Linked DNA regions of Homo sapiens: regions 2, 3, 4 and 5 are each linked to region 1. Evidence: promoter capture Hi-C in human tissues and cell types (Jung and others, 2019). All regions are on one chromosome and are shown on one strand. Each heading gives the region's core, a stretch centred on a gene start or on the middle of the fragment in contact. The rest is flanking DNA. Distances are from core to core; before and after follow the strand shown.

Region 1 (4,895 bases), core at 1,278-3,777:
CCCTGACTTCATCTGCAGAGCATCCTTCCTCCACGTTCAGCAGTCTATAATATTCTCTGATCTTCTTTTTGGATTTATGGGTTGACATCATTCTATTTCTAATGATACCAAAATATGGAAGCATTTTCACTCGATTAGGAATCACTGTAGCCTTTATCAGGTGAGATCTTAAGATCTGAGCCATCATCACATACATTGTATTCATTATTGTACCCAGAGTTCTTCCTAGCAATGACCTATAAAACGACAACAAATATAGGTTGAACAAAGTTGTATTATCAGTTAATTTCTTATTTTCAGCAATAAGGTAAAAGATACAGCATGAATTTATAAGTACAACAAGGGGCAGTTCTTTTGAATGCTGCTGTCAACTTTTTCCTTTTTTTTTTTTTTTTGAGACAGAGTCTCGCTCTGTCACCCAGGCTGGAGTGCAGTGGTGCCTCCACCTCCAGAGCCACGCCTAGCTAATTTTTTTGTATTTTTAGTAGAGAAGGGGTTTCACCATATCGCCCAGGCTGGTCTGGATATCCTGACATGGTTATCTGCCCGCCTCGGCCTCCCAAAGTGCTGGGATTACAGGTATGAGCCACTGCGCTCAGCCTTTTTTTTTTTTTTTTTTGTCTGAGACAGGGTCTTGCTCTGTTGCCCATGCTGGAGTGCAGTGGCACAATCGTGGCTCACTGCAGCATCAACCTCCTGGGCTGAAGTGATCCTCCCACCTCTGCCTCTCATGTTGCTAGGACTACAGGCGTGCACCACCACACCTGGCTAATTTCTGTATTTTTGTAGGGATGGGGTTTCGTCATGTTGCCCACCCTGGTCTCCAACTCCTGAGCTCAAACGATCTGCCAGTTTCTGCCTCCCAAAGTGCTGGGATTATAGGGGTGAGCCACTGTGCCCAGCCACATTCTTTTTTCTTTTCTTTTCTTTTCTTTTTTTTTTTTTTGAGACAGAGTCTCACCCAGGCTGGAGTGCAATGGCATGATCTCGGCTCACTGCAACCTCTGCCTCCCGGGTTCAAGCGATTCTCCTGCCTCAGCCTCCCAAGTAGCTGGGATTACAGGTGCACGACACCACTCCTGGCTAATTTTTGTATTTTTAGTAGAGACGGCGTTTCACCGTGTTAGCCAGGATGGTCTCGATCTCCTGACCCTGTGATCTGCCCGCCTCGACCTCCCAAAGTGCTGGGATTACAGGCGTGAGCCACCGCACCCAGCCCCACCAGCTGCATTCTTATAGCTATATTTCACTGATGTGGGCAGAAAAGTGGAAGCTGATGAAGTTTAGTGTTAACATATTGTGGGGCCAGGCACGGTGGCACACGCCTGTAATCCCAGTACTTTAGGAGGCCGAGGTGGGTGGATCACCTGAGGTCAGGAGTTCGAGATCAGCCTGGCTAACATGGCAAAACCCTGTCTCTACTAAAAATACAAAAATTAACTGGAGGTTGCAGTCCCAGCTACTCGGGAGGCTGAGGCAAGAGAATCGCTTGAACCCGGGAGGTGGAGGTTGCAGTGAACCGAGATCGTGCCACTGCACTCCAGCCTGGGCAACAGAGTGAGACTCTGTCTCAAAAAAATATAGATAGATAGAATCTGGATTCTACCCCTCACTAACTAACCGTATATTTTACAAGTGGAAAGTTCTTAGAGATCATCTAATCCAATCTTCTCATTTAATGAGAAAACGTAGGTCCGGAAGGTTAAGCAATTTAACCAAGTCCCATAACAAGGTGTAAGCAAAATGGTTAGGGGTGGGCACAGTAAAAAAGGAGGCTTGCTTAACTGTCTATACCTCCAGCCGATTATAAACTGCACGAGAGTCTGCATCATCTCAAGAAGTCTTCTCATAAGACGACTTATGGACAAGGTACGTACCTGGTCTGATACTGGATTGAATAGAATCAAGTGTCCAAAAGACTTTAAGCTCCACAGCTCGCTAGGAAGGAGCTATCTGCCAGAGGCCAGAAAAACCATGATGAATTGTGAGGCCTCCCAACACGTTTGCTGCTATTGCAATAACATGGTCTCGAAGAGGAGGAAGACTTGTACACTGACAATGGCCAAAAAATACTGGAAGTGGCTTAATTGGAATTGGGATATATAAACGCTAAAACGGAGCTCCTGAGACCCCCTATTTTCTAGGCAATCGGTGCCAACGGTCTGGGAGCCGGCTGCGAAGGTGGTTATCATGGCAAGGGAGGTCGGTCCTGCCCCGCCCCCTCCTCACCTGCGCAGACCTGGGGTAGGGGTTCCGCGGCTCCCGCCCCCCTGCCGCGCCTCTGCGCATGCGTGCGCGGTCCGCCCTTCACTGCGGGTGTCCCTCCCACCGCCTCCAGCTGGTGCCTCCGCCGGGCTAGACCATTTGCCACTTTACACTGAGGGGCTCGGGGGTACGGAAGGCAGAATCGTACCTGATTGGGACAGGTGACCTTACCAGGAAAACGGACAATCTTCCGCCAAACGAACTTTACCCCGGAGGACCCAGGCAGGGCACCTCGGGAGCCTTCGTCCCGACCGGGGACCACCAGCTCCACCTCCGTCCCCGCCCCGAGCGGAGGTGGTCCGGCCGATTGGGATTGTGGGAGATGTAGTTCGCTAGAAGGGGCGATGTGCGCCTGCGCCTCTCGGGAGGGACTTAGGGGGCGTCGAAAATGATGTAAAGACCGAGTTGGCGGCGTGGGGAGTTGTGGCTCGGAGGGCGAGGGTAACTTTCTGGGGGCAGGGGAAGGCAAGGCTGTTTCCCCGGAACGGGACCGGAACAGGTTTATTCGGGGTCACAGAAGGAGTCACCTGCGCAGATACATGAGGCTTAAAACCTGCCCTTTTATTAATTCAAGTACTGTTGAGGGGCTGGCGACAGGCCAGAGGACAAAATCAAAATAGGGATCTTCTGGCTTGGAGTTCAACCACTGACGTGGGGACTGAGCATTTCCCCTCTCTGTACAGGAAGCAAGTTTTTTAACAAGGAAAAAGAAAAAGGATAAAAAGAAAAAGGCAGAGGCTTGGGAGTTTTCAGATCTGGGTTGAAAATCCTGTTTCTTCTGCTTGCACCTTAGGCAAGATACCTGCAAAATGAGAGTTGCAATAAATAGTAAACTATAGTAAATAGTATGCCATTGTGCTAAGTGCTTTATGTATATTCTCATTTACTTTTTTTTTTTTTTTTTTGAGACAGAGTCTCGCTCTGTCGCCCAGGCTGGAGTGTGGTGGCGCGATCTCGGCTCGCTGCAACCTCCACCTCCCGGGTTTAAGCTATTCTCCTGCCTCAGCCTCCCGAGTAGCTGGAATTACAGGCGCGCACCACCATGCCCAGCTAATTTTTTTGTATTTTTAGTGGAGACCAGGTTTCACCATGTTGGCCAGGCTGGTCTCGAACCCCTGAGCTAAGGTGATCTGCCTGCCTCGGCCTTTCAAAGTGCTGGGATTACAGGCATTCATTTAATCTTTACAACAGCCCTCTGAGATAAATGCTGTTATTTTCCCTATTTTACATATAATGAAATAATAATTGTATCAACTTCATTGACTTTTTTAGGGGGAGAATTACACAATGTATGTAAACCACTTGGCACTGTGCCTCGCACATTAAGCAATATTTTTTGTTATGACTGTGTCTCCTAAAAGGAGCCAGAAATAGGTATTAGCCTCCTCAGCTTCTACATCATAAACATTAGAATCATTTATTGCCATCTATGTAGGAACACAGAAAAAGATACAGTATAAACTCTGATTCTGAGGGCTTTAGTTATAAGCAAACAATCAACAAAATAACTCATGTGAAAGAAAATAGGATTTCTGGCCGGGCGCGGTGCTCACGCCTGTAATCCCAGCACTTTGGGAGGCCGAGGCGGGCGGATCACGAGGTCAGGAGATCGAGACCATCCTGGCTAACACGGTGAAACCCCGTCTCTACTAAAAATACAAAAAATTAGCCAGGTGTGGTGGCGGGCGCCTGTAGTCCCACCTGCTCGGGAGTCTGAGGCAGGAGAATGGCGTGAACCCGGGAGGCGGAGCTTGCAGTGAGCCTAGATCGTGCCACTGCACTCCAGCCTGGGCGACAGAGCCAGACTCCGTCTAAAAAAAAAAAGACCTGGCCACTAAAAAATTTTTAAAAAGAAAAATAAGGCCAGACGCAGTGCTCACGCCTGTAATCTCAGCACTTTGGGAGGCTGAGGCAGGTGGATAACCTGAGGTCGGGAGTTTGAGACCAGCCTGACCAACACGGAAAACCCCCATCTCTCTAAAAATACAAAAAATTAGATGGGCGTGGTGGCGCATGCCTGTAATCCCAGCTACTCGGGAGGCTGAGGCAGGAGAATCGTTTGAACCCTGGAGGTGGAGGTTGCAGTGAGCTGAGATTGCGCCACTGCACTCCAGCCCAGGTGACAGTGCGAGACACTGTCTCAAAAAAAAAAAAAGCCACCAAGCAAAACTTCCTAAAAGTTGCCAGTAGCCATCCCCCTCTTCTGCTTCCAGGCCCAGTAAGGTGCCTTATATCTCTCAATCTCATCCTTCTCCCAGCCTTGCTTCTAAATGCACTCCAAGGCCAGGCACAGTGGCTCATGCCTGTAATCCCAGCCCTCTGGGAGGCCCAGGTGGGAGGATCACTTGAGCCTAGGGATTTGAACCAACCTGGGCAACATAGGGAGACCCCATCTCTATTTATTTAAAAAAAAAGTAAAATTAAAATACACTCCAAGTGTCAACACTTCACGCAGAAAACAGAAATGTTGAAGTTAGCCTTGCTTCCCCAGCTGCTCAAGGACCTTTTGAAATCTTCAACTGAGTGCCCAGCGAAGGCTGGGGAAGGGGCGGGGACTGTCCATCCTCCTTCCCAATACCAGTGGTTTATCAGTGTATTCAGCCCACAAAGCAAGTCCCTTCTCTAGGTAC
Region 2 (4,895 bases), core at 1,322-3,821, 490 kb before region 1:
CTCAAAGTACTGTACAGGAGTCACTTCAACCTTAATCTCTTTCCTTACATGGAGTAATTTGGGATAGAATCAACCAGTGATTTCTCTTATTGAAGGATTAGGCCATGTTGTTAATAAAGTGGCCATCTAGACAATGAAAACGAAATAAGTATTCTCTCGTCAATTCCTAGGTAAGTGATTTCTGGTCATTTGAGAGTAAAAAATGCTCATCAATAGTTTTGTCACTTTATTTAAGCTGCCTTAAGAGTAAGGATTATGTTTGACCCAGAAAACCTTACCAGTGTGGTCGAGACCTCCAAGAGGGTTATTGTCCTCACATAGCAAGAAAGCACGAGGTAAGCAGTGTAGGGCTAGAGTGGTTGCTTGACCAGCCATGTCCACTGGGACTCAGACTGGCTTGCTCTTCCTGCTCTACTAATCTTAACTTGAGGCTTTCCTTCTCTAAAGTCGAAAAATGGCTGCTGCTGCTCTGTGTATGATGCCCGTATTGCAGGCAGGAAGAGAGAAAAGAACCACAAGGCTTTTCCTCTCAATCTTTTGTGTTTTTGTCTGGGAATAGATGCTACTCTTTGGATTTCTGCCAACATTACATTGGCTAGAATGGGTCACATGGCCACCCTTAACTGCAAGGGAGTCTGGGAAGTTGGACATTTTAATATGGCCACAATGGCACCACAAAAAAAAATAAGGTCTTTGTTAGAAAGGAAGAAAAAGGAATGGGATTTGGGTAGGCAATCAAGAGGTCGGCTACACTGTCTAAAATGTTGCCTGTATTTTATTTTTAGTTTAAAAGTACAAACAAAAATGCCCGGAAATAGAAGTTTGATGTGCGTTCTTGGAAGAATGGCATGAGGAGTGCCACACTGAAGTTAGAGCATAAGGCCATTTCCTATCAGTCCTTGGGCAAAATCTGAGCTTTATTTCCTCCACTTGATATGAGATTAATAATACATAACCAGTGTAAAACTCACATAATTATAAGTTCCACTGGATACATGAAGAGTATTATTGTTGAATATTCCTAAAGCTTCCCATGAGTCATGGAATAAAAAGTGAGACAACAAAAATTTAATTGTGCTTGTTTGGTTTTTTTTTTTTTTTTTAAATAAATTGGTTTTGTTTCTCAGCTCATTTCATAGACAATTTGAGGCAGCCAACAATGCCAATACATATAGTAAAAAATAAATGTAGATTTTTAAATGGAGTTAAAGAGTAAGAATCAATGTGAGCTAAAATAAGAATATAAGAATTTTTAGTCTAAGCTTTCTGGCCACCAAAGTATAAAGGGAATATAGAACAATTTACATAATAGTCATTATCAGAGAAAAACATATCTCACCAGTAGATGCAAGTTTTCTTTATTGTAAAACAAATGTTTACATACTTGAAATCCTGTCTTTCAAAGGTAATCCTGGCATTTAGTTCAGTGCCTGATGAAAAGAATGCCCTGGGTAAATATTTATTGGATGGATAGATCCAAGATCTCTCTTCTAGCTACTTTGAAATATATGACTATTGTCACCCTACTCTGCTATTGAACATTAGAATTTATACCTTCTCTCTAACTACATGTTTTTACCCATTGTCCAACCCATGCATAGCTGGATAGATGGAAATGGAATAAAACTCTGCTACATATATTATGTGATTTCTCCTTATTAAAAATTACCATTTTTTGGAGAACAGGGACAGCTTTCTATTGAATGCTATAAACTCTCTCTCCAGAAAAGTGAATATATACACAGAAGTCTGCATATCATATAAAGGGGCTGAGAGATTCCCTGAAACTCATCCACAGATCACCTTGGGGGCTAATAGGTTTCAGCTGAGCAACCGTTTTTCATCAGCAGTGCAGGAGACAGTATAATGTAGCAAATAAAATACCATCCGAGGCATCAGACAGACTTGTCCGAATCCACTTGCTGTCTGGGTGAGAAAAAGAAAAGTTATATAACCTTTCTGAGCTTCAGTTTTCATAACTGTAAAATGTAGATAAAATGCCTACCTCATAGACTTGTTGGGAAAATGAAATGGCATAGTATATTTCTAGCACTTAGCATAGCACTTGGTACATACAAAGCCCTCAATAAATTAATCCCAAAAAATAACTCCCATTTACTGAGTACTTCTATAGGGCAGCACCTTGATGTCATTCCATCTTTATCTCAACCCTGCAAATTTGATCATCACATCATTACTCCAGTTTTATAGATGAAGCTGAATCACAAAAGTTCTGAAATTTACCAAAGCTCACACAGCCAGAAAATTACAGAAACAGAAGATGAGCCCAGGTCTTTCAGTACCAAGAATGCTAATATCAGGTTCTGTCTGTTTTTCCAGCCATTTTCCTCCACTTGTCTTCTGGTAGCTCATATCTATGACTCCACAAAGGACAGGGAAGAAGAGAAGCATCACACAGGCCGGAAAAATTTAATACCTACTGCCAGACCTCTAGTCACTGGTCTGGACTTATGGCCAAGGAGTGGCTGACACCTTGAGATACACATCTTATATCCTCAGCTGTCATTGGTTTAGTGGGGAGGCTCTTAGTCTGGCTAAACACAGGGAAAGCTGCAGCTACCTCTCCCATTAAAATAATTTGAAATCTCTTTATTTATTTATTTTTTTTGAGAAAGAGTCTCACTCTGTTGCCCAGGCTGGAGTGCAGTGGCACAATCTCAGCTCACTGCAACCTCCGCCTCCTGGGTTCAAGTGATTCTCCTGCCTCAGCCTCCTGCGTAGCTGGGACTACAGATGTGCGCAACTATGCCTGGCTAATTTTTGTATTTTTAGTAGAGATGGGGGTTTCACTATGTTGGTAAGGCTGGTCTCGAACTCCTGACCTCGTGATCTGTCTCCCTCGGCCTCCCAAAGTGCCTGGATTACAGGCATGAGCCACCGTGCCCAGCCAATAATTTGAACTCTTTATGCCAGGTTAGCAACCCATATGTCACAATGTAATTGGCAACTGTATCTTGTAGCCTGCCTAACATCCATTCCCCCTTCTAGTTGCCTCCATCTCATTTTCTTTTAACTATACTACCTTCCCATGTGCCTCTGAAAAAGTGAGCTCTCCCTTCTACTCCTGAATGGGCCCTGATTGGTGAATCCAATCAGCACATCCCATCCAACTGGCCACAGTGACTGGCTCAATGAAAAATAACATGAATCCAGCCAATGGAAGGTTAGGAGAGGTTTACTGGGAACTTAGCAGGAATAAAAGTGCTTGATCTTCTCATAAAACTGTCAGGAGCAGCTGGGCACAGTGGCTTACACCTGTAATCCCAGCGCTTTGGGAGGTTGAGGCAGGAGGATTGCTTGAGCCCAGGAATTGGAGGCTGCAGTGAGCTATGATTGTGCCACTGCACTCCAGCCGGGGTGACAGAGTGAGACCCTTAATAAATAAATACATTAATACACAAAATTTCTATTATAGTACTTTTAAATTACAGCACATAGTGTATGTATATCTATTACAGCAGTTACTGTATTTGTTCTTCTGACAATGTCCCTAAGTAGACTACTGTCTACATCTATTGTCTTAACCATTTTTCTATGCTCAGGGCCTAACACTAGTAGCATTTAACAGCTAGTGAAGAGACGGATGAACACATCCACATCCCTGCCAACACTGGGTATTTTCTGGGGTTTTTATTATAGTGGCCATCCTGCTGGGTATGGGGTGATATCTCATTGTAGGTTTGATTTACATGTCTCTCATGGTTAGTCACGTGGGGCATCTTTTCAGATACTTGTTGGCCATTCATATATCATCTTTGGAGAAATGTGTATTCAAGTCCTCTGTCCATTTTAAAATCACGTATCCTTTATTTTTTTAAACCCATCTGAGTTGGGTTTTTTTTCCTCGTTACTAAGAGATTCCAAATTGTTATGTTATGATGTTTTCCATGGCAAGTAATAGAACCTCCCACTGAGGAGTCTGACTTTTAGTTGTGATTTTTCAGGCCTGGCTGTGGGAAACTACAAGGCTGTACCTGGCAGGCCTTATGGGGAGACTCCCACTCCACACCAGACCTGGCACAGCCAGGGCAGTGGCACTCCCAGGAGGGAGCTGCGGGCAAGGTATCAGGCCCCTGGCCGGCCATGCTCTTACATGCACCTGTGTTCCCAGCCCTGCACCTTCATTCCCGGGTCTCTGTGTCCATGGTCTTCTTCAGGCACCTCTGCCAAGGCCTCCTTATGGGGGAATGATATAGTTTGGCTGTGTCCCCACCCAAATCTCCTCTTGAATTTTAGCCCCACAATTCCTATATGTTGTGGGAGTGACCAGGTGGAGGTAATTAAATCATGAAGATGGGTCTTTCCTTTGCTGTTCTCATGATAGTTAATAAGTCTCATGAGATCTGATGGTTTTATAAAGAGGAGTTTGCCTGCACAGTTTCTCTTCTCTTGTCTGCTACCATGGGAGATGTACCTTTTACCTTCCACCATGATGGTGAGGCCTCCCCAGCCACGTGGAACTGTGATTACACTAAACCTCTTCCTTTCATAAATTGCCCAGTCTGGGGTATGTCTTTATCAGCAGTGTGAAAACAGACTAATACAGGGAAGGAGGGAGAAACCTTGAAGATGCTTCCCTGTGACTCTGGCTCAGCACTCAGTGCTTTTTCCCACTGAGCCCTTCTCCCTTACCCCTTATCCCCAAGGTCCATACAACTCCCGGAGCCATTTTTTTGGGTCTCTGTCAACAATGAGGTGACCACATCTGCATGAATCCACTGCCCCTCCACAGGTTCCTGTTCCATGGGGGAAAATGGACAGAGGAGTTGGCACTTCCTCTGGTTTTAGCCTCTTGCTTGTACCATTGCTGTAAGTGATTACAGGCTTAACCCTCATTTTGGGCTTGTTGCTTTAATTGGCTACTCAGACACCTG
Region 3 (4,895 bases), core at 1,071-3,570, 390 kb before region 1:
ATAATTCTTTTTTTTTTTTTTTTTTTTTTGAGATGGAGTCTTGCTCTGTCACCCAGGCTAGAGTGCAGTGGCTGCAGTCTCGGCTCACTGCAAGCTCCACCTCCTGGGTTCACGCCATTCTCCTGCCTCAGCCTCCCGAGTAGCTGGGACTACAGGCACCCACCACCATGCCCAGCTGATTTTTGTATTTTTAGTTGAGACAGGGTTTCACCGTGTTAGCCAGGATGGTCTCGATCTCCTGACCTCATGATCCGCTCGCCTCGGCCTCCCAAAGTGCTGGGATTACAGGCATGAGCCACCGCACCCAGCCACACCCAGATAATTCTTAAAAATTTTTGTAGAGACAATGTCTAGCTTTGTTTCCCAGGCTGGTCTCAAACTCTTGGGCTCAAGCAATCCTCCTGCCTTGGCCTCCCAAAGTGCTAGGATTACAGGCTTCAGCCACTGTACCTGGCCAGTTTCTTTTAATGTTAAAACCAAATAGGAATTAGCTAAAATGACTATCCTTATGGGATAAGCTTAACAAACTTTGCTATGAACTTATAATGAAATACTATGCAATCATTATAATGATCTGAATTTGAAATAATCTGAAATGATTTGAAATAATGATCTGGAGCTTTAGTTGATTAGAGAGACAGATACAGAAAGAAGCCTATAGCAATTTGTAGAATTCAATGTGTAAAAAGAGAAATGTTTGAGAAAATGTCAGCCAAATGTTAACAGTATTTTTCTCCAAATGGTGGGACTTGGTTGATTTTTATTTTTTCCTTGGTACTAACTGACTTTTTTTTTTTTTTTTTTTTTACAATTAACACAAATTGCTTTTACAATAAAATCTCTATTTTATTTTTTTAAAAAAATTTTTTGAGAGGCTTTGGTGAGCATTTGGGAAATGACTTTAAAGGGAGAAGAGGGGATTTTTCTGAGGCCAAAATGAAGGAAAAGGTATCATAAATCTTTGGTGTTTGGGCCTCTGCAAGACAGGCATCTCACCCCGTCCTGATGAGCCTGGGTCCCGGGACCACTTGCTTCTGCAACTTGCCTTTTCTCAAAGTCCTACTTTTGGGTTTAAAGCATTTCTCTTCCTTTTTTGTCATTGCCTTCTTGCGTTGACAGAGATTTTCTGAGTTTGATTTGCCCCTTGAAAAGAATAGATTGATCATCTGTAAAGACGTTGCAATCAGATGTCAAACCAATCCAATCGAGGAAAAAGGCTGGGAGAGGTGAGTTTGTGAGGGAGAGGTAGAGCATGGATCAACTCCTCTGTCACCAGACAAAGCTAATGTGCAATGGCCTGTGGCTTTCTTTTGAGCGATTCACTAATCAATGTAAATGCAGGCTCTAAGGTCGGACAAGCTGAAGTGTCTGGGGGCCTTGGTAACTTGCCCAACATCCAGTGTGACCAAGAAAAATACTCCCCAACGATAGCCTTCTAGGTTTGCACCGTATCATTATGACACTTAAAACGAGACTTTTTGATTTCAGTTGATTGCAAATTGCCCGTCTACGTTCTTAGAAGACTGAGGAGGATGTATGAGACGAAGATTTAAAAAACGCAGCTGGGTGCGATGGCTCACTCCTGTAATCCTAGCGGTTTGGGAGGCCGAGGCGTGTGGATTGCCTGACCTCAGGAATTCGAGACCAGCCTGGACAACATGGTGAAACCCCATCTCTACTAAAATGCAAAAAATTCTGGCCGGGCACAGTGGCTCACGCCTGTAATCCTAGCACTTTGGGAGGCCGAGGCAGGCGGATCACCTGAGATCAGGCGTTCGAGACCAGCATGTCCAACATGGTGAAAACCCGTCTCTACTAAAAACACAAAAATTAGCCAGGCATGGTGGCATGTGCCTGTAATCCCAACTACTTGGGAGGCTGAGACACAAGAATCGCTTGAACCCAGGAGGTGGAGATTGCAATGAGCTGAGATCGTGCCACTGTACCCCAGCCGGGGGACAGGGTGACACTCTGTCTCAAAAAAAAAAGGAAAAAATGCCCGTGAGTTCACTAAGGGTTGCCTGAAACAGCAGAAGGGCCCAGGTTTCTTATTTACCAGAAATGGAAGTGATGCTAACCAGAGTTCCACACGTGCCTTCAGTATGTGCTTCTTGGGGCACCCTTGGGCAGAGGGGTCCTCCTGGTGATGATGCAATGAGACCACACTCTCGGGGCACGAATGGCAACTGCACAAAGTTGAGGCATCTGCACTCACACGGGGACTTATTCTGCCCATTCCCTTAGCACCAAATTAGAAAGAAAAAGATTGCCCCCTGCAAAACAACTTGCTAGATTATTCCAAGGCAGGATAAGGCACAGAAAATATGCCATGTCTGCCTTTCATCACCTTAGGTAGGAGGAGAGCAAACTCCAGTTCCTTTCTTGGCCCTTTTTTTAGACGGAGTCTCGCTCTGTTGCCCACACTGATCACCGATCACTGCAACCTCCGCCTCCTAGGTTCAAGTGATTTTTCCCCTCTCAGCCTCCCTGAGTAGCTGGGATTACAGGTGCTCGCCACCACGCCCAGCTAATTTTTCTATTTTTAGTAGAGACGGGGTTTCACCATGTTGGCCAGGCTGGTCGAACTCCTGACCTCAGGTGATCCACCCGCCTCGGCCTCTGAACGTGCTGGGATTACAGGCGTGAGCCACCGCACCAGCCTCTTAGCCCTTTTTGAAGTTATTTCTTGAAGGTGGATGTGTACGTCAGGTCAGACTTCCTCTCTTAAACAACCTACCCTCGGCTTCTAGGAAGGCAGCAATTGCTTCATTTTCAAGCAAACAGAAGAGAAATACAGAACATTCCTAGGGTCTTTTACAATCACACAAAATATAAATGAGCATTTTAAAAACTTTTATTTCTAATTTTTGTGGGTACATAATAGGTGTATATATGGATTACATAAGATATTTTGATACAGGCCTGCAATGCATAATAATTACATCAGGGTAAATAGGGTATCCATTTATCCTTTGTGTTATAAACAATCCAATTATACTCTTTTATTTAAAAACATACAATTAAATTATTCTTTACTGTAGCCATCCTGATGTGATAGCAAATACTAGGTCTTATTTATTCTAATATTTGTACCCATTAACTATTCCCCCTTCCCTACTCTCCCAAATGAGCATATTTTTAAAACATTTACTGTTTCTTTCTGATTATAAAAGACATGCAGGTTCATATCAAATTCAAATACATACTGAAATAGAAAAAGAAACTCTATGTCATGTATAACCCACCTCCCAGGGATAATGACTGTGAACAGTGAGTAGTGCTTCCTTCCCGTTGTTTATTCTACACATATATAATCGAACACACAACTCGATTTTTCACGTAGCTGGAATTATATGGGCTGTATTATTCCATTTCCTTTCCCTTAGTTTTAATATTCCATCAGAGCATCAGGAAATGCAAGGCTCTGAGGAATTCTGAGAATAGTAATAATCATAGTAGGAGTAATGCAGTCAGTAGTAGCACTCTAGTTTGTATTTATTGTAGTCTGGATTCCACATAGGGCTTTTCTCCAGGGAGCTGAAGGTATTTTATATTTCCTTCCTAATAGACCTGGAACAAGGAAAACTATGCGACTAACTGTCAAAAGAGATGAGATGGGCCTGACACAGTGGCTGACGCCTATAATCCCAGCACTCTAGGAGGCTAAGGAGGGAGGATTGCTTGAGCCTAGGAGTTTGAGACCAGCCTGGGCAACATGGTGAAACCCTGTCTCTATAACAACAACAACAAAAATTAGCCTGGCATAGTGGCACACACCAGTAATCCCAGCTACTTGGGAGGCTGAGGTGGGAGGATCGCTTGAGCCCAAGAGGTTGAGGCTGCAGTGGCCCTGATCGCAGCCACTGCACTCCAGTCTGGGCAAAAGAGCAAGACACTGTCTCAAAAATATATATAGAGAGAAAAATAAATACATAAAGAGATGAGATGACTTCCTTGTGGAGTCGCACACCTAAGTCATAACCAGGAGCAGCCCCGAGTCTGTGTCCACAGAGGTGGGCAGGAGTCACCTTGGGACATGTGGCCTTCCTCTGCAACAGGCAGGTGGCACTGAATATGCACAGCTCCTCCTTGGAGGTGGGGGTGCTGCTCTCCAGAGCCTCCATGCACACGCTCCCCTGAGGCCTGAGTCACCCCGAGCTGGGCGTGAGGGGGCCAACCATGGTCCCAGCTTCCTCTATCCGCCCCTGCTGCGGCTGTGACTGCCGCCGCGTGGACCCGGGCTGCCCTGCCGGCCCATGGCTCCCGCTGCGCCCCGGCGGGCTGACAGTTGTAATGCTGTCATCCGTGTCCGCTCACAGAAAGAGCAGGAAGCCCAATTGCCCCACACAAAGGCCTGAAGTGCTCGTGTGAAAGGTCACTAAGTGCTGTCATCTGGGCCAGGGAGGGGGCCGAGAAGGCGGCGCCCACTGAGAACAACAGAACCAGGGGCAGGATCTTCACCTCGGCCTGTGGCCTGGGGTGTCCAGAGAGAGAGACAAAGACTCAAGTGGGAGCTGAAGGGACTTGGGAGCGAGGACGCCGGAGGGATGAGAGGCGCCTGGGCCGGTTCCTTAGGCAACCAGTGGCCCGTGGGCCTCCATAACTCTGCCCAGAGGCTGACAGCTCCCATTCATCCCCCAGGCCGGGCAGGTGGCAGGGCGGCCTGAAAGGAGCGGGGAAGCAGGAGGACAGGTCCCAGAAGAAGCCCCTGGGACGCTCCAGGCTCTGCGGGGAGGCCCCATCCTCCAGCCTCCTGCTAGGGGGATGGGAGGTCAGCAGGCTGTTTGTGGAACCCCAAGAAACACAGTTTAATGATAGCAAAAACTACTAAGCATACTATTTAGTGTCAAATTAGATGCCGTTTAATGTCACATTTGAGTTTATAAATGTGGCCA
Region 4 (4,895 bases), core at 1,558-4,057, 370 kb after region 1:
CCCCCGTGGAAAAAAACATGGGCCCAGAAGTCAGACATCCCAAGTTTTTGTCTGGGCTCCGGCCCCTTCTAACTAGTTTTGGGCATTAAGGTGGCAGTCATGGTGCTTGTCCTGCCTACCATGCACGGTCATTCTGAGAGCAAGGGAATCAGGTGTCCCAGGGGCACGCCGTCCATCAGGGGGCTGATGTGTACAGGGGCTGCTGGCTTCCCTCCATCCCAAGGTTCTCTATCCCCGTTCCTCTGATTCCCGGATTAGCTTGTTTGGACTAACTGGCTCATGTCTTCATCCTCCAGATAAAATCTTATGTTGAACCGTAGCCTTCTGGGGACCTGATTTCTTTTTCTTCTTTTCTGCATTTTACTAGAAAAAATCTCAAACATACAGAAAATTTGAAAGAATTGTAGAGTGAACACCCACATCATAAACTGGACAAAAAACATTGTGCTGTATTTGGGTGGCTGCATAGACATAATTTCTTCATGCCAAGGAATAACTGTGATGAGGGGAGATCGAGGGCTCCTAGCAGCCGAGAGAGGGAGGCATTTGAGGATAAGAAGTTAAGGCAGCAATCCCTGGAGTGCCACCAGTGAGCGGCCATATGTCTGCTACTCCTGATCCTACAGTCCTTGTATTTGGGGGGTGGGGCAGGGGGTAGGGCAGTTATCAAACAAGTCAACAATAAATAAATAACATGAAAATAAAAAGGGCTAACTGGAACACATGGACTTCCTACTAATGATGCCTCATTGAGGGTTAGAGCAAATGGCTGGCTCTCTTGCGAGGAAGCTGAGACCTGAGAAATGTGCCTTTCATAGACAAGGTAGGGCCAGACAGGTCTAGAACCTTTTTATATCCAGAGCCTGGAGCAGGACCCTCAGGACAGCTGTCAGAAATGATGGCAGAAGGGCCGGGTGCGGTGGCTCATGCCTGTTATCCCAGCACTTTGGGAGGCCGAGGCGGGTGGATCATGAGGTCAGGAGATTGAGACCATCCTGGATAACACGGTGAAACCCCACATCTACTAAAAATACAAAAAAATAGCCAGGCGTGGTGGCGGGCGCCTGTAGTCCCAGCTACTCGGGAGGCTGAGGCAGGAGAATGGTGTGAACCTGGGAGGTGGAGTTTGCAGTGAGCTGAGATCGCACCACTGCACTCCAGCCTGGGCGACAGAGTGAGACTCCGTCTCAAAAAATAAATAAATAAATAAATAAAAAAGAAACGTCATCTCTACTAAAAAAAAAAAAAAAAAAAAAAAGAGCTGTGCGTGGTGGCGCATGCCTGTAATACAAACTACTCAGGAGTCTGAGGCAGAAGAATTGCTTGAACCCGGTGGGGGCAGAGGCTGCAGTAAACCAAGATCGTGCCACTGCACTTCAGCCTGGGCAACAGAGTGAGACTGTGTCACAAAAAAAAAAAAAAAAAAAAAAAATGATAGCAGAAGGGAAGCAGAAGTGAGGTGGGGTGACCAACCCAGGTTTGGGGAACTGTTTTTTATCAAGAGGCTTTCCTGTCCCCTCGATGGAAAAAGAAAAGAAAAAAAAAATAAGAGCTTGTCCCAAAACAGTGTTTTTCTTAAATATCTGACTCATCTTCTTTTTAACTTAAGAAGAATGGATTCCATTTTATCTTGTTTAAGCAGAAAATGAAGGAAAAATAAAAAATAAAAATCAGTTTGGGGTAATGACAGATGGTGAGAAAGAAGAAGAAAAGGATGTGGGGTTGGGAGAAGGAGAAGAGGGAAGGAGAGAGGGCATGGAGCAGATGGTGGGAAGTCCAGCAGGGCGGGAAGTGCAGAGGCTGAGGCTGGGACCAGCAGGGAAAGGCTTGAGGGCGAGATGGCGGGAGCAGGGCAGCCGCGTCTGGGAAGATGGGCAGGTGCCCAGAGCAGCTTGGAGGCAGTCGTGGCGGGAGGTGGGTTGGGGCCTCTGAGGCTGTGGTCCCAACCATGGGCTCTGGAGTCAGACCTGGGTTCCAGGGTTACCTCTGTCACCTATTAGCTCTGAGACTTGGGTCAAGTCACTGAATTTCTGCATGCCTGAGTTTCCCCAATAGGAAATGGGGATAATAATATATGTAAAACTCTGTTTGACACATAGGAAGCATTAATAAATGCTAGTTCCATGACTGTCCACTTGGTCTGCAGACTTCAGAGGGTTACAGACACTCATGTGTTCAGCAATCATTGAGCGCTCTTTGAAACATTTGTTAGCCAGTTAATTGCCTTTTGCAGTTCAAGTCCTCTCATCTGTAAACCTTTCTAGGAGACTGCCGATCAGCTCACCGCAAGCAGAGTACTCTTAGGGCTGTGGCTGCAGCAGCCGAGTCACATGATCCCTGGGCCTGGTAACACCTTGCGGTCTTCATAAGTCTTTGCCTATACAGTAGACCATCCTGGACGAAGACCCATGACTGAATCTAATAGGTGCCTAGTCCATAGTAAATCAGGCTTTAATTTTAGGCCTGTCTGCTGGTTGGGTAACTCTGTTCTACAAGTGTGGGTCTGCAGAACCCAGGAACTAATTCCTCAAGACAATCACTGTCTGCAGATGCTCTTTCTTCTTTTCTTTTCTTCTTGTCTCCTTCATCCTTTAATAAAAAACAGGCCAGCGGCCGGGGCCGGGCACGGTGGCTCATGCCTATAATCCCAGCACTTTGGGAGGCCAAGGTGGGTGGATCACTTGAGGTCAGCAGTTCGAGACCAGCCTGGCCAACATGGCGAAACCCCATCTCTACTAAAAAAATAAAAATTAGCTGGGCATGGTGGCGGGTGCCTGTAGTCCCAGCCACTCGGGAGACTGAGGTGGAGGTTGTAGAGCTGGGATTGCACCACTGCACTCCAGCCTGGGCTACAGAGTGAGACTCTGTCTCAAACAAAACAAAACAAAATAGGAGAAGGAAAGGGTGAAAGTACTTTTTATTCACTTGTTAAAAAAACTACTCCTCATAGGAAAATGATGGAATGATGGAATTTCTTCCTGTTTCCATTCATTGCAAGTTTATAACGTGGCTATCCAGGGCTCTCATCCCCCCAAATTATTGGTGTCATCACCCTTGAGCACATTTTTGCTCGTTGTGGTATTTCACACCAACCCCTCAATGGGGCAGTGGCCTTTGGGCCATCCTGAGGACACCAAGCTGCCACTGCTCCCCACACCCCAGAGGCAGCCAGTGCTGATCTCCCCATGAGGGCATCCACTTCAGGTGGAATCGCTGACTGCTCACACCACATCATTTATGGTCCCTAAGTTTTTCTCCTTGGCTTGCCCGGTCCAAGGGACTTTATTTTAGCCAAAAATGTGGGAGAAAGAAAAGAAAGTGATCTGAAGTTTTTAAAGCCTAATATAAATATTGCAGAGCTTCCTTGGAATTCAATAGCCCGCCCCGTACCTCAAAGGCTTCTCCAACATGACCATGAAAGCAGCCAAAGGCATTCAATAGGGACATCCTCCCAGCCTTGTGTTAAAGTCATAGGTTATACCATTTTGTTCCATCTACCCATCCATCCACCCATGATCACTAACTAGGATAGCTGAACACACCCATGGCTTCATGTTGTGGTCCTGCCATGTAGTACCTTGCTGTCCTTACCGTGTATAAGCTCAGTGCCATGCCCTTCTTCCAGATGCTGGTGTTAAGGGTTCACATGTTGAAGTTGGGAGAGGGGAAGCACAGTCCTAGTTACCATAGCTCTGAGCACTCACACTGCAGGCAGACCCCAGAACACACACTTCCCAGTCCCATCAACACCTCTCCTGAATTCCAGGATATACATTTTTTGGGTTCATTGGCCCATTATCATAGTAATAGACCTCTTTTCCGAACTCCTCTTAATTTAGTTAACTCAGCTCTAGCAATGAAGCAGCGAATCACAGAGATACTTCAAACAGTCATTTATACCTGGCTTTTGCTGAATCTCATGGGATTATTTTGCCAAGGCATTTGTTTTGCCATCTTAATTATGTTCTTTTTAGCCAAAAATCATCCTTCCCCATCCTCTGGCAATAGCAACTTCCCTTGGGCAGAAGTGTCTCCTGGAAATAGGATCAGTGCTCAGGCCACATCAACCTGGGGCTTTCACCACCGATAATCTGTGTAGTGAGGCATCGACACAGGGGACCCATTTGAGTTGTTCAAGAAAAAAACTCCATATTTCTGCACAAGAAAAACAAATTGTAACAAACAGCCACTCTGCCAAAGAAAAATGCTCTGGTGCTACCTCTCTGTAGCCCTAGACTCATTTCTTTCTCCATTCCTTGTCTCCCAAATAGATCCTTTAGTGGCCCTTAAGGCTGTGCCCCTCACACACATTCTGTTTCTGTGCAACCTAAGTGTGCTGTGGTGCTGTCAGATAGCGTGAAAGCAGGGGGCTCACCTCCCGTGTTTCCGTGCAGAGCGCTGAGAGTCCGCAAGAAGATGTCCGGGGAGAAGATGCCTGTGAAGATGATTGGAGACATCCTGAGCGCACAGCTGCCGCACATGCAGCCCTACATCCGCTTCTGCAGCCGCCAGCTCAACGGGGCTGCCCTGATCCAGCAGAAGACGGATGAGGCCCCAGACTTCAAGGAGTTCGTCAAAGTAAGGAGCCAGGCTGTGCAGAGACTGGGCCCCAGAGTGGCGATCTTTGGGCAGCTGGATGTGTGAGGGGCTAATTCAAAAGTCTGCAAGAGTGTTCCCACTAGAGGCCAACAGGGCCTAGGGTCTTGGCTAAGCCTTAGGGGACTGGCACTCACTGGCAAGTGTGGCTGTCACCAAAGGGGTGGGCTTGGAGAGGAGGGGTGAACCCTGGGCTTGGAAGCTTTGAAAGTGTCTTTAGGGATCTGTTTTCCAGATGCTATTGGTGTTATTTGGATGCATGTTTAAATCTTTCATTTCATTTGCAAGGCCCAGGCAGG
Region 5 (4,895 bases), core at 1,299-3,798, 360 kb before region 1:
TAACTATTTCACAAGGGCGCGAGGACACGACTACTTTACAGCCCCTTAGCATCCAATCAGAAGCTTGACTACTTTACAGCCCCTTAGCATCCAATCAGAAGCTTGACTACAGCCCCTTAGCATCCAATCAGAAGCTCGTCTCCTCCATACTCATTAAAAGGGCTACAATAAGAAACAAAACAAAACAACCAGAAAATGACAAGTGTTGGTGAGGATAGGGAGAAACTGGAACCGCTGGGCACCATAGGTGAGAATGTAAAATGGTACAGCCGCTAGGGAAAGCAGTATGGCCGTTTCTCAAATAATTGAAAATGGAAATACCATATAATTCAACAATTCCACTTCTGGGTAAATACCCAAAAGAATAGAAAGCAAGGATTTGAAGAGATATTTGCACACCCATGTTCAGAGCAGCACTATTCACAATAGCCAAAAGGTGGCAGTAACCCAAGTGTCCATCAAAACAAAATGTAGGCCAGGTGCTGATCACCTGAGGTCAGGAGTTTGAGACCACCTGGTCAACATGGTGAAACACTGTCTCTACTAAAAATACAAAAATTAGCCAGGTGGGGTGGCTTACACCTGTAGCCCCAGCTACTTGGGAGGCTGAGGTACAAGAATCGTTTTAACCTTGGAGGTGGAAGTTGCAGTGAGCTGAGACAGTACCACTGCACTCCAGCCTAGGCAATAGAGTAAGACTCCATCTCAAAAAAAAAAAAAAAAAAAAAAAAGGTAGCATAGATATACGTTTAAAGGAAGAAAATTCCAACACATACAACAACATGGATGAACCTTGTGGGCATTATGCTTAGTGAAATAAGCCAGACACGAAAGGACAAATACTATATGATTCCACTTACATCAGGTATCTAGATGAGTCGAATTCCTAGACAGAAAGTAGAATGGTGATTGCCAGGGTTTGAAGGGAGCAGGCAGTGGGGAGTTACTGTTTAATGGGTACACAGTTTCAGTTTTACAAGACCAGAGGAGTTTTGTATGGCTGGATGGTGGTGATGGTTGCACAGCAATGTGAACGTTTTGTTTATTTGTTTGTTTTTTTTTGAAACCAAATCTCGCTCTGTCGCCCAGGCTGGAGTGCAGAGGCACAATCTCGGCTCACTGCAACCTCCACCTCCCTGGTTCAAGCAATTCTCCTGCCTCAGCATCCCGAGTAGTTGGGATTACAGGCAAGTGCCACCACGCCCAGCTAATTTTTGTTTCAGTAGAGATGGGGTTTCGCCCTGTGGGTCAGGCTGGTCTCGAGATCCTGACCTCAGGTGATCCACCCGCCTCAGCCTCCCAAAGTGCTGGGATTACAGGCATGAGCCACTGCGCCTGGCTGTGAATGTTCTTAATGCCACTGAACTATACACTTAAAAAATGGTTAAGATGGTAAATTTTGGCTGGGCGTGGTGGCTTACGCCTGTAATCCCAGCACTTTGGGAGGCCAAGGCTGGCGGATCACAAGGTCAGGAGATCGAGACCATCCTGGTCAACATGGTGAAACCCCGTCCCTACTAAAAATACAAAAATTAGCTGGGCATGGTGGTGTGCACCTGTAATCCCAGCTACTCGGGACCCTGAGGCAGGAGAATCACTTGAACTAGGGAGTCAGAGGTTGCAGTGAGCTGAGATTGTGCCACTCCACTCCAGCCTGGGTGACAGAGTGAGACTTGGTCTCAAATTAAAAAAATAAAAAATAAAGAAAGATGGTAAATGTTATGTTACATGTATTTTGTCATAATTTTTAAAAAATCAAAAAGCTTGTCTGCTCATCTGTAAGGTGGGGAGGTGATGGTTGTGAAAACCAGATGAAGTGAAATACATAAAACACTACAAAGTTTGGTGTGTAGTAGGTGCTTAATAAATGATGATTATCATTATGGTTTTACAAAGTGGTCAGTAAATAACAGATTAACTGATTAATGGACTAAGAGATATATTGTTTCTCCTCCAAGGAAAACTTTCTTCATTGATATGACAGAGAATGGAGTGAAGGGGTGGCTTCATCGGAAGAGTTTGGCAGGCTTTTTATGTAGAGGCGAATGGGGTTGACTGACAGCACGTGGCGGCCCATTGCAAGGGTCCCTCCCACTGCGTCCAAACTTGGCCCATTAGAGTCATTTCTCTGGCATCAGCATCATCTCCAGAAGGCCCCTCTGTAAAAGTGCATATGTTAACCTAGAGGGAGAATCCATTAGCACCCTAATCCCCATTAGCAAGGAGTGTGTGGCTGGATTATCTTGCTGTCACCTGGCAGGAAGCGGGATCCTGTAGAGAAGGACACCAGTTAGCATATTGTCGCGGGGGAGAGGGGTGGGAAAGGCGAGAGAACAGCATGTGGTCCAGAGGCCATACCCAGATGGAGGCTGCAGTCAGCTCCCCAGTCAAAGGCAAAGCCCAAGTCAAAGCCATGCTTCCCTCTTGCCCACCTGCTCCAATGCCACCCACAGAGAGTGCGCCACAGCTCACAGGATGCAGGTCTGGTTGAATCTTAACAATAACTTTGTAAGGGAGGTGTCATTAGCTCCATTCTCCTGGCAGGAGGATGAGGCTCAAGGCAGCTAAAGGCTTTTGCTGAACATCAAGTGGTGAGCCAGGACTCAATGCCAGATCTTCTTGTTTCCCTGTTAGGTGTATGTAGCACAACTGGTATCTGCAGACTATGCTGCTGGAAGGGCTAGCCGTCACTGTTATCACAGCGACTGCTGCCTGAGATATGCCAGGTACTGCTGCAAGAAGTTTACAAATATAAGCTCACTTGATCTTCATAACATACTACCTAGGTACAATCATTATATTTATTTGACAGATACAGAGACAGAGGGGACACAGAAAGGATTAGTAACTTGCCCCAAACCACACAGCCAGCAAGGTGTAAGTGAGCACCTGCAGTCTAGATGAGACACCACTCAAAACGTCATTTTTCTGGCAGCCCCGTGCAGTTACCACAGTGGTCACCCCAGTGGTCAGCTAAAGGCCAAGCCCACCGTTTCTCACTCCTCAGTGGCACAGCTGCCCACCAACACCCGGCCCCCAGGGTCACTGAGAACAGGTCCCCAGCCTGCTCTGGGTCTTCTAGGTGGACTTTTCCTTTGAGATGGGGCCAATCCATCATTGCATTGGTTTTGGGGGACAGGGGTCTAATTTCATTGTAATCTTCTCCATTGCTATTCAAGCAATCACAAAAATCATATTTGTCTCCTGGGAAGTTTTATTAAAACGGAGTATTATGTCCAAGCACGGTGGCTCACGCCTGTAATCCCAGCATTTTGGGAGGCCGAGGCGAGAGGATCACGAGGTCAGGAGATTGAGACCATCCTGGCTAACACAGTGAAACCCCGTCTCTACTAACAATACAAAAAATTAGCCAGGTGTGGTGGTGGGACTACAGGTGTAGTCCCAGCTACTTGGGAGACTGAGGCAGGAGATTTGCTTGAACTCGGGAGGTGGGGGTTGCAGTGAGCTGAGATAGTGCCACTGCACTCCAGCCTGGGCGACACAGCGAGACCCTGTCTTAAAAAAAAAAAAAGCATTATTTATTTTGCTGATTTTAGGAGCTTTTATCTCATCAATTATTTTATTGTTTACATTTCTCTTATTTCAATATGTGTATATTATTTATAATATTTACATATAACGAATGGTTGTTAAAATATTTAGACAGTTTCATTTTGTTTGTTTTTCCTTAGGAAACTTGCTCATAACACTTAAATTATAGAATATTCTCCAAACTTATTATTTGTTATGTGAAGTTTTCTTCTACCATTCAACCACACAGAAAATGATAAATTTTTTTACATGTAATGCAAATGTGTAAAAATAAATTTTTAAAATATTTAGGCAGTATATAAAAATTTCACAAATCTGGAGACATCCAGACATGGCTTATCACCCTGGTTTTACAAAACCGTGAATTCCTGGCACCCAAGTTCAAGGTGGGCATTTGGCTCATTGTAAGAAGTCCTGATTCAGCACCTTAGCCCACTGAATTGCTTTGGAATTTCTGGAATAAAACATTCTACTTCACCCTCAATTCTCTATGCCCAGAAACCATCCTGGCAGCAAGGCAGAGGGTCGATTCACCACCATTTATTATCTCTGTGTGTGAGGCACCACACAGAATACATAAATACAAACTCTCCTCTTTCAAAAGAATATATCTGGGAAGATCATGCACATTTAGTTCAAGGACAGTGAGCAAACAGAAGTCAGGTGACTGTGAAGAATGGGAGACTGGTTAAAATCAGGAGCAGGTGGATGGTTCGTTTCCAAGAAGCTGAGCTGGGCTGAAGCACGCAGCGTGTCCGTTGCTGCTCCACTGAACCTCCAGCTGGATTTCCATGTGGTGGTGCAGGCGAGGGGCCGTGCCGATTCATTATGACAAAATGACATATCAAAAAGGTTTTGCTGGCCTGCGAAAGATGCCCAACAGCAGATATGCATTATCTTATAAGTTAAGAATGCTGTCTTTTAGAGGGTTAGCTGTTTTGTTTGTTTGTTTGTTTTGAGACGGAGTCTTGCTCTGTCGCCCAGGCTGGAGTGCAGTGGCTGATCTCGGCTCACTGCAAGCTCCGCCTCCCGAGTTCACGCCATTCTCCTGCCTCAGCCTCCCGAGTAGCTGGGACTACAGACGTCCGCCACCACGCCCGGCTAATTTTTTTGTATTTTTAGTAGAGACGGGGTTTCACCGTGTTAGCCAGGATGGTCTCGATCTTCTGACCTTGTCATCCACCCCCCTCGGCCTCCCAAAGTGGTGGGATTACAGGCGTGAGCCACCGTGCCCGGCCGGTTAGCTGTTTTTTGACTTTGAAAATAGAAACCATTTCTGACAACAGTCTGAGAACTATGTGATTGGCACATTTATCGATGCTGTGAGTCTGGCTGTGATTTTT

The links. Contacts are between HindIII fragments. The study calls those that stand out against the background at their distance.
Region 2: a fragment that was not itself captured here is called in contact with the fragment with the promoter of DNAJC28 in region 1 in 3 of the 25 tissues and cell types used here (dorsolateral prefrontal cortex, mesenchymal stem cells and mesendoderm cells).
Region 3: a fragment that was not itself captured here is called in contact with the fragment with the promoter of DNAJC28 in region 1 in 1 of the 25 tissues and cell types used here (H1 embryonic stem cells).
Region 4: a contact is called between a fragment that was not itself captured here and the fragment with the promoter of DNAJC28 in region 1, in 1 of the 25 tissues and cell types used here (adrenal gland).
Region 5: a contact is called between a fragment that was not itself captured here and the fragment with the promoter of DNAJC28 in region 1, in 3 of the 25 tissues and cell types used here (hippocampus, mesendoderm cells and spleen).

Annotation. Positions count from the first base shown.
Region 1 is chr21:33,489,189-33,494,083 of GRCh38, forward strand. DNAJC28 (DnaJ heat shock protein family (Hsp40) member C28) reads right to left here and starts at 2,528. Exons shown (of 2, transcript NM_001040192.3): 1 at 2,414-2,528; 2 at 1-236. The coding sequence starts at 205. The HindIII fragment of the contact is 10,582 bases long and covers 1-4,895 here.
Region 2 is chr21:32,999,970-33,004,864 of GRCh38, forward strand. No RefSeq gene overlaps it. Among named protein-coding and RNA genes, the nearest start is that of OLIG2, 24 kb to the right of the region's middle. The HindIII fragment of the contact is 7,473 bases long and covers 1-4,895 here.
Region 3 is chr21:33,097,225-33,102,119 of GRCh38, forward strand. No RefSeq gene overlaps it. Among named protein-coding and RNA genes, the nearest start is that of OLIG1, 30 kb to the left of the region's middle. The HindIII fragment of the contact is 8,649 bases long and covers 1-4,895 here.
Region 4 is chr21:33,860,757-33,865,651 of GRCh38, forward strand. It overlaps ITSN1 (intersectin 1), which reads left to right. Exons shown (of 40, transcript NM_003024.3): 32 at 4,395-4,578. Among named protein-coding and RNA genes, the nearest start is that of ATP5PO, 53 kb to the right of the region's middle. The HindIII fragment of the contact is 6,469 bases long and covers 1-4,895 here.
Region 5 is chr21:33,131,820-33,136,714 of GRCh38, forward strand. No RefSeq gene overlaps it. Among named protein-coding and RNA genes, the nearest start is that of LINC01548, 36 kb to the right of the region's middle. The HindIII fragment of the contact is 9,056 bases long and covers 1-4,895 here.